3 separate regions of the Homo sapiens genome follow, and all the other regions are linked to region 2. Evidence: promoter capture Hi-C in human tissues and cell types (Jung and others, 2019). All regions are on one chromosome and are shown on one strand. The core of a region is centred on a gene start or on the middle of the fragment in contact, and the rest is flanking DNA. Distances in the headings are between cores, read along the strand shown. Region 1 overlaps PEX5L (peroxisomal biogenesis factor 5 like). Region 2 holds the start of PEX5L (peroxisomal biogenesis factor 5 like). Region 3 overlaps PEX5L (peroxisomal biogenesis factor 5 like).

The links. The method cuts DNA at HindIII sites, captures the fragments that hold promoters and counts their contacts. A contact is called where the count stands out against the background at its distance.
Region 1: a contact is called between a fragment that was not itself captured here and the fragment with the promoter of PEX5L in region 2, in 1 of the 25 tissues and cell types used here (hippocampus).
Region 3: a contact is called between a fragment that was not itself captured here and the fragment with the promoter of PEX5L in region 2, in 1 of the 25 tissues and cell types used here (hippocampus).

What each region holds. Positions count from the first base shown.
Region 1 is chr3:180,000,359-180,003,252 of GRCh38, forward strand. All of the region lies in intron 1 of PEX5L (peroxisomal biogenesis factor 5 like), which reads right to left. Among named protein-coding and RNA genes, the nearest start is that of PEX5L, 35 kb to the right of the region's middle. The HindIII fragment of the contact is 9,703 bases long and covers 1-2,894 here.
Region 2 is chr3:180,035,531-180,038,230 of GRCh38, forward strand. PEX5L (peroxisomal biogenesis factor 5 like) reads right to left here and starts at 1,407. Exons shown (of 15, transcript NM_016559.3): 1 at 1,049-1,407. The coding sequence starts at 1,069. RefSeq lists a silencer at 1,473-1,522. The HindIII fragment of the contact is 6,291 bases long and covers 1-2,700 here.
Region 3 is chr3:179,977,587-179,980,286 of GRCh38, forward strand. The region is part of intron 1 of PEX5L (peroxisomal biogenesis factor 5 like); the gene reads right to left. LOC124909463 (a long non-coding RNA gene) reads left to right here. Exons shown (of 2, transcript XR_007096182.1): 2 at 1,975-2,458. Among named protein-coding and RNA genes, the nearest start is that of PEX5L, 58 kb to the right of the region's middle. The HindIII fragment of the contact is 6,006 bases long and covers 1-2,700 here.

The DNA.
Region 1 (2,894 bases), core at 355-2,854, 35 kb before region 2:
GGAGATCCATTAGGGTGTCTCTTAGTATTATCATGCCCTGTGATTAAGGTCAATGGGAAACTACAACAGCCCAATCCAGGCAGGACTACACATGGCCCAGACCCTTTAGGAATGAAGGTTTGGGTCACTCCTCCAGGAAAAAAAACCACGACCTGCTGAGGTGCTAGGTGAATCAAAGGGAATACAGAATGGGTAGCAGAAGGAGGTAGTCATCAATACCAGCTATGACCACGTGACTAGCTGCAGAAACAAGGACTGTAATTGACATATTTCCTCCTTCTTTTGTTAAAAACATGTTTGTGCATGTATATACTTGTACTAAGAAGATATGTTGATTTTATTTCCTTTTTCCCTTATCACGTGACATCAGATTTATTGATTTCATACCAGCATTTAAGTATTGTTAACTTTATGTAGTAATATTTAGGTTGGGGATTGGTGCATTTCTGGTTGTACGAGGATAGTTGTATTATGTTAGGTGTAATTATGACCTTATTATTGTCTTTATTGAAGATTATGTGTGATCTCAGGAGATATGTGTGGGTTCAAGTTGACAAGGGGTGGACTTGTGATGGTTAATATTGAGTATCAACTGGATTGAATTGAAGGATGCAAAGTATTGATCCTGGGTGTGTCTATGAGGGTGTTGCCAAAGGAGATTAACATTTGAGTCAGTGGGCTGGGAAAGGCAGACCCACCCTTAATCTGGGTGGGCACCATCTAATCAGCTGCCAGCTTGGCTAGAATACAAAGCAGGCAGGAAAATGTGAAAAGACTAGACTGGCCTAGCCTTCAAACTACATCTTTCTCCCGTGCTGGATGCTTCCTGCCCTTGAACATCGGACTCCAAGTTCTTCTGTTTTGGGACTTGCACTGGCTCTCCTTGCTCCTCAGCTTGCAGATGGCCAATTGTGGGACCTTATGATCATGTGAGTTAATACTTAATAAACTCCCCTTTATATTCATATATATATATAAAATAAAATATATAATATATATGGATATATAGAAGATATATATATATATCATATTAGTTCTGTTTCTCTAGAGAACTCTGACTTATACACCCACCGTCTCTCTGATAAAAACGAACTTGGTAAATAAACTCTTTGTGCACATGTTAAAAGAAAACAAATTTTTTTTTTGTTGTCATTGCTCATAGAGGAACGCTTCAAACCATATATTTGTAGCTAAACCTATGTACACATCTTTTGGACAGAGGGTTGATAAACAGTGTTCACTACATTTATTTTTCATTGTGCTTTCAAGTAATAACCTGTGAATTTTATTTGAAGTCATTAAGTTTTAATCATTTTTAATAAACTATTTTATGCATATGTTTTATACACATATGCAACTTGACATAAATGCTTTACTGGGGTAATATCATATGTGCTATTTTTATAGTTTAGTCTTTTCTTTTTTGCTTACCTACCCTTCCTGCTTCCCAGTACATTTACATCATCAAATACACACTTATCCATCCATGAATAATCAACAAGATAATGTTTATTTTATCTATATTATCCATAGTCATAGCCAAACACACATATTTGTAGGTAAATATATTTAACCATATACATATAGACGTTAGCTGGGGTTGTCGTTATTTTACAAGTAGTATGATATTGCACTTACTTCTTTGTACTTGTTTTTCATCTCTCAACTATACTTCAAGAACAACCACCTAAATCCATCTTCATAGCTCTATTTCATTCTTTTTAATGCCTGCATGTTATTCTAGGTATGAATGTACCATGAACTTCTCAACTTTTTAAAAAATACGAGCATTCCTTTGGTTTCCTTTTTCTCCTAACTGAACAATGCTGCATTTAGTATCTTTGTGCATATTTCCTTAAGTTCTGGTTGCTTTAGTGCCATGTGATAGATTCCTAGGGATGAGATTGCTGATTAGAAGAGTGTATTTTTTATTTAAAAATTGTTTTACGATGTTGCCAGGTTACAAGCTTGCTGACTGCCACACAAGCCTTTCTTAGTTATGCCTTTTCTCCTATTCTTGACAGAAACAGGTATTATTACTTTAAAAATATTTTTAAGTCTGATGAGTGTAAAGTGATATCTTTCATTGCATTTCCCTAACTATTAGTTAATTTGATCATCTTGTTATATGTATTGATCATTTGAAGGTTCTCTCCTAGAAAATTCCCATTTGTATATTATCCCCAGTTGTAAATTGTGTTTTGGGTCTGTTTATGGGCAATTTGTGAGAACTTTTTGTATAGTATATCCATTTACTCTTTGTCAAATGTGTTGTAAATATTTGTCCAAACCTGTATTTTTCTATCAATATAATCCTTTTGGGGGGCATATTAATTTTTCCATCAAGAAATATATTTTCTTCAGTTTTAACTATAGCTAGAAATTCAGCTGCCCTAGAATTGTGTGAAGACTACCTCACAAATAGTATTTCACAAGAGAAGACTGAGATAATGGCAAATATAATAAACCTCTTCCTTGCAGAAAAAGTTAGGAAGTACAGTAAATAATCTTGCTAAATCAGGAAACAATTGCAATAACACAAATTGTCCCATAAAGATCTAAATTATCTTACATTTTCATAGCTTGTTAAATTTGGAGCGTATTTTATCTTCACATAAATTCTCATTTCACAGGGTAGGAAACGATTATAGATGAGACCAAGGAGTTTCTCTTTTCAAACAGAGAAAAGAACGATAAAAATCGAATTCATTCTGTGTTATTAACGGAGATGTAAACTGACACAAATCAGGTGAGGATTTAGAGCCTGACTTCAAATACCCTATTGAGACTTTTCTAAATAAAGCCAGAAGTCTTAGCAGCTCTGTAAACAAGGTGATTCAGAAAACTCAGTCTCTAAAGGGAGCTTAGCTCATTCTATCCTATCATGTGAAACA
Region 2 (2,700 bases), core at 157-2,656:
ATGGATTATAGTCCAAAAGAATTTCCCTAAGTTATGGAAATTAAATCTGGGTAGTACTAAGTCATAAATATAACAACATATTTATCTATTTCCAATTGCTCTAAAAGACACAGAAGCAAAATCCTCAGTATTCATAAATGTTATACACCAGGATAAAGGCATCACACATAATGATTGTATTTGACCATCTTTGGAATGGAAAGGAAGCCCAAACATCAAACCTGATGACTAAACCATTTAGGTGCGATAAAGAGTCCAGTTCATACTTTAGAAAGCTGAGTTAGTATTTTATTTTTCTCCCAAAGCATATATCTGCCTTTATAAGAACCAACCAACCGTATGAATGAGAACTGGAGTCAAGGTTAAAGTAATCTTGCCCAAGAGAGTAGAGTGTGTTTGCATCGGAAAGAAGCAGCGGCTCAGCTCAGATGAATATTAATAACAACCGGAGGCAGCACCTCCCCTGAAAAACATTAGAGCTCCTTGGACATGTGTTTGAAATTCATCCTCCCAAGTCATCCTGTGACTATTGGAGTAGATGGCAATGTCCCATAATGTGAAGGGGGAAAATACACTATAAATCGTTTTTTAAATATAACACTTTAAAAAATGAAACGAAAGTGACAGAGTGTTCTAAGTCAAGCAACCTTTTCAGATGGTAAAGGAAAAGCTTTGTCTTTCCTATTATTGTTTGCCCTTCAGTTGACATACATGCTGAGATGCATCAATAGGATTACAACGGAAACACGGTCATCTCTAGGGTTTCCTCTGTTTCGATTCCTTGATCCTGTTTAAAGAAACAGGCTCAGGGAATGCACAGAAAACAAACTTCCCCAATCGAAGTTCTGAGGTCTTCCCTCCCCTTCTCCCACCTTCGGAAACCGGTCTAGTTTTCCCGGCAGCACCGGACAGAAATGTCACGGTCATGTTGCATCACTTCACTTGTTGAGCTGTGCGAAGGCAGCACTTGACCACAGAAACTTGGTGAACCGCCTTGCTCTTAAATTAGCCCCCAAGAATTCTCTCCAGCCCTATAGAAATGTCTTACCTGCATGTGTCCCTGGTACATTCTGCTTCGGTTTCTTCAGGGCTCCCTGAGGCCACCGGATGCTTTTCCCCCGTGCTTACTTGCCCACCAAAAGAGGGGAAAAGGTGGGTGCACAGCGGGTTCTCAGAGGGTGCTCCTGAGCCCCCTGGAGCTCCGGGTACTCGGCCGGCCGGCGGCCACTCGGCAGCGCTGCGGGCTGCCGGGAACTGTTCTCCGCTCGGGGTGCTGAAAGCGGACGCGGGAGAGCGCGCAGAGAAGGCGAGGAGCCGGGTCGGCCAGGCTCTCCTGCAGGCGCGGGTCCTGCTCGCGGGGCGTCTCTAGAACTCACTCCTTCTTCGCCGAACTCTTTCTCGCTTCCTGCCAGGTTGCCTCATGTCTCTCTCTCTCTGAGCTGCGAACCCCCTCCTCCCAGCCCTGACGTGAGCGCCTACACCAGCCGCCGCCGCAGCTGCCGAGCGGGGCGCGCGCCGTTCTCCCAGCCGCGTGCCTGCCGAGAGGCCGCGGGACCGGGCACGCGCGCGCGTTCCCAGGGGCCTGGGAGCGGCCCGAGGGCGGCCCCGGGCGGTGCGCGCTCCCCGAGCGCGTCCTCGGGGCTGCGCGCGCGCGGCGGCAAGGCGAGGTGCCGGCAGGCGGTGGTCGCGCTGGTGTACAACGCCCGCAGCAGCGCGGCGTTCAGGTGCGGCGTCGGCGGGCAGGGCGATTCTAGCGGAGAGGATGGCCGGCCGGAAGAAAGGCGGGAAGACATGCATCGTCTCTCCGGGGGCCATCCACCGCGGCTGAGCCTGTTATCCTACAGACATTATAGGCTGAGTGCAGGGGTTGCCGAAGAGTTTACTTCGGTTCTGATTCAGCTCTCGAAAGTTACGTCCGTATCACCCGTTAAATAAAGACTCCCCGCTCCCCTCATCCCCAGTTCATCGCCGAGCATTCTATTTAAAACGGCAAACCCTAGTCCCTGAGGATCTGGCATGTTTTATTTTTTTCCCTAGCACGTAACATCACCTAACATCCTTTATATTTTCCATATTTATTTTATGTACTGTCTGTCTCTCCCTCTGTACAATGTTATTTCCATGAGATCAGGGACTTTTTTTTAGGGGGGTGGAGTGTTGCACTTGGTTTTGCACGTGTGTGCACAGTAAGGTATTTAGTACTTCCTGACACATGGCAGGCACACAATAAATATTTGCTGAATGAATAGACCTTTACTACTATACACTTACACACACATACACACATATATGAAGAGTGCATTTAAATATGTCTCAAGTTGAGACTGGGTAGTTTGATGTGTCTACACAATAAATGTTCATATATACACACACACCACGGGGTGGTGTATACTGTGATTACCTAATTTTGTTGGTAAAAACATCTCCAATTCTACAGGCCCCTCATATTATGTACAGCATGATATCCCCAAAATATTGCATATAGCATAATATGCTTTTTATAAAGTTTAAAAAATCCCTAGAAATGTCAATGTGTATTCATATATTCATATACAACAATATAAAAAGGAAAGCAGTGGAACAATGAATATAGTGTTCAGAGTGTTGGTGACCCTGGGTGAAGGGAGGCAGGGAAATAGATGGGGAAGCATTTCACTTGAAGTTTAGATGTTAATGTCTTATCTTCTATGCCGGGTAGTG
Region 3 (2,700 bases), core at 180-2,679, 58 kb before region 2:
GGAAAAAGGATAAATTTTTCCCAAAAGGCCTGGAAGTAGAGCTTGAGAGTGATCGCCTTTCAAGGACGTAAGCTCAAATAGACCTTTTGAATGGAGAGTAATTGCCTTACCAGTTAAAAATGCAATTTTCAGATGTTTAATTTTTCTTAGGTATGGGGGAGATCAATTTTCTGAAGGGAAATTATTATTTTTACAGAGAATCATTTACAGAGGGGCTGGTTAAGTCTGGCATTTTTTAAAGAACAATTTTTGTCTTGTCTTTTTAAAAGACACTCATGGGCTTTTCCCCCCTCTCTAACTGTGATCATGCTACGGTAAAAGAGAGTGGCCACACAGTACACTTTTTTATTTTTGGGTCAAGCATGGGCAAACAAAACATATGGCAATCAGACTCACTTCTGAATGTACGTTGTTGGGTGAGAAAAGAAATATAAGGACAACAAGTATGTTGTAGCATTTTAAACTGTTTTGCCATATGCATGAGCCCAGACATTTAGTAATTTTTTGGATTTTAAGGTTAAATCTAATTGGAAAATAGGTATTCCAGTTACTAACTAGCTGGATAATAAGATGGCAGGGAATCACAATACTACAGCCTGGCAGTTCCCCCTTAATGCTGGTTTTTCTACCTTTAGGGTGGCTTTTGGTCTGTACATTAATAGCCTGAAGGGTTTATGAAGCATCTTGAAAATATTTTCTATTTTCCAAGATTTCAAAAAATAAGAATGTTCCAACATAAGTATCCATTAAGATTACACAATCTTACATCATTGTCCAGTGACATTTTCTTAAATATACAAATTCAACTTTAGGTATGTACCTTTTAATATATCTTTTCTAGTATTTTATCATGAAAATTTCAAACACACTGCAAAGTTAAAATAATTTTTACAGAGAGACCCTGTGTACTCAACTACCTAGATTCTACTAACTTTTATTATACTTGCTTTTGCCCCAAATTTTTCACCCACTTGACATATTTTTAAAGTATATACACTATCACATTTCTACACATTCTTTCCTTCAAGTTTTATTTTATCTAATTTACTTTTAAAAACTCAGAAAAGTAAGACTATTGTTTCAAAAAGCTTCCAAGATCAGAGCACTAAAGTTTAGGAGTTGTTTTACTGAAAATCTTTGCTTTTATTTGGAAAGCAAATCAGTGAACTATATTCTCACCATTAAGTGTTGTATAGGTCCCATCACTAGGATTAGGAGGAACGATTTCTGATCAAAGCGTTAGGATTTTTATAGCTCTCAGTCAAAAGCTAGTGAGCAAACAACTCAGCTTTCTGGGATTAATCCATGGAATGATAGGCAGTTCAAGATGATATTAATTACCACATCCTCAAGTTTATGTCCTTTGATCATCAATGTTTCCTGCATCTATGAAAAACAGCAAACAACCTCACTATACTCTGGGCTATATAGTATGTAATCACCTCTGGTACCTGCAACGAAAGTGGCAAGTGACTTCTCAGAGGGGTTACATTTGCTTTAAGGGACAGTACTTGGCTGGCATATTGAGATCAAGTAGGCAGAAAACAAAAATTCAACTTGAAATTTCAATTATGTCAGATTCAGCAATGTTCCACATTACTTGGAGGACAATAAGTAAATTCATTTTAATCCTCTTTCACCCTCAAAACCAAATTCAAATTTTAAAAAAAAAACAAAGATAATGTTCTTCTAAACAGAAAATTGAGTCCAGTTTTTCTTTCAGCTGGCATGTTCTTGTCTCCTTCCCTATAGACTTGTCTCTAGAAGTTATAAATGTAATCATAGGATGCAGTGACCAATATGTAAAAAATTGTTTTCTGTGGGCTGAAGATAATGATGATTGAAAAATTATATATTTTAATCTGATAATCTCTCTGGCAGTCTTAAGCAGTCTGGGTGCTATTTCCAAAACAAGATGAAACTAGCAAGCACTCCTTTTTGGTGGTTTTAACCCTGTCATCCCCGACACAACAGGACTGGAATGGTTGTTGGTGGAAGATGGTGCAGAGTCTAAGAGAATTGACGTATTATCTTGGATCCCAGTGGCAAGGGAACACTTCTGTCCTACAATAATCTCTCCCATCCCCAACAGGAAAAAGGTAAATTGTGTATTCTGTTATCTCTGCAGTCTGAGAAAAATAACAAATAATCTATTTTAAGTGAAAATTTATTGCTTGATGTTCTGCTTCTGATCCCCGTTGACACATTATTTTTTATTTTTGTATGCATTGGCCCTATTAGATGGGGATGAAACCTTGTTACAGCAATCTCAAACACAGGTGTACTTATCATTGGCTTTTCCAGCGACTCCTCTTCCTTCTCACTGGCAGCCAGCACACCTGGCATCCCGCACCTGCCACTGACTTCCTTTTAACAACTGATCTGGACATCATGATTTTATGACCTTGCAAACTAAAACGCGATCTCTTTACTGTAATAAAGAAGAAAGAAAAAACCAGCTGCTTCTATAGGCATTCTGTATCCTCACTTAATTTTCCCTCGATGTTTATACCTTCTCTAGACCAGCATATTTTTTTGGAAACTCTGACACATGCTTGAGAAAAATTTGCCTATGAAATTTTGTTTCTGACAAGAATCAACCCAAAGTTTGTGCTTCGGCCATAAAATTCATGCAGAAAGTTATTTATTTTTAAGCTACATGTATGTGACTGAATGGCTTATAATCAGCATTTCTATTAT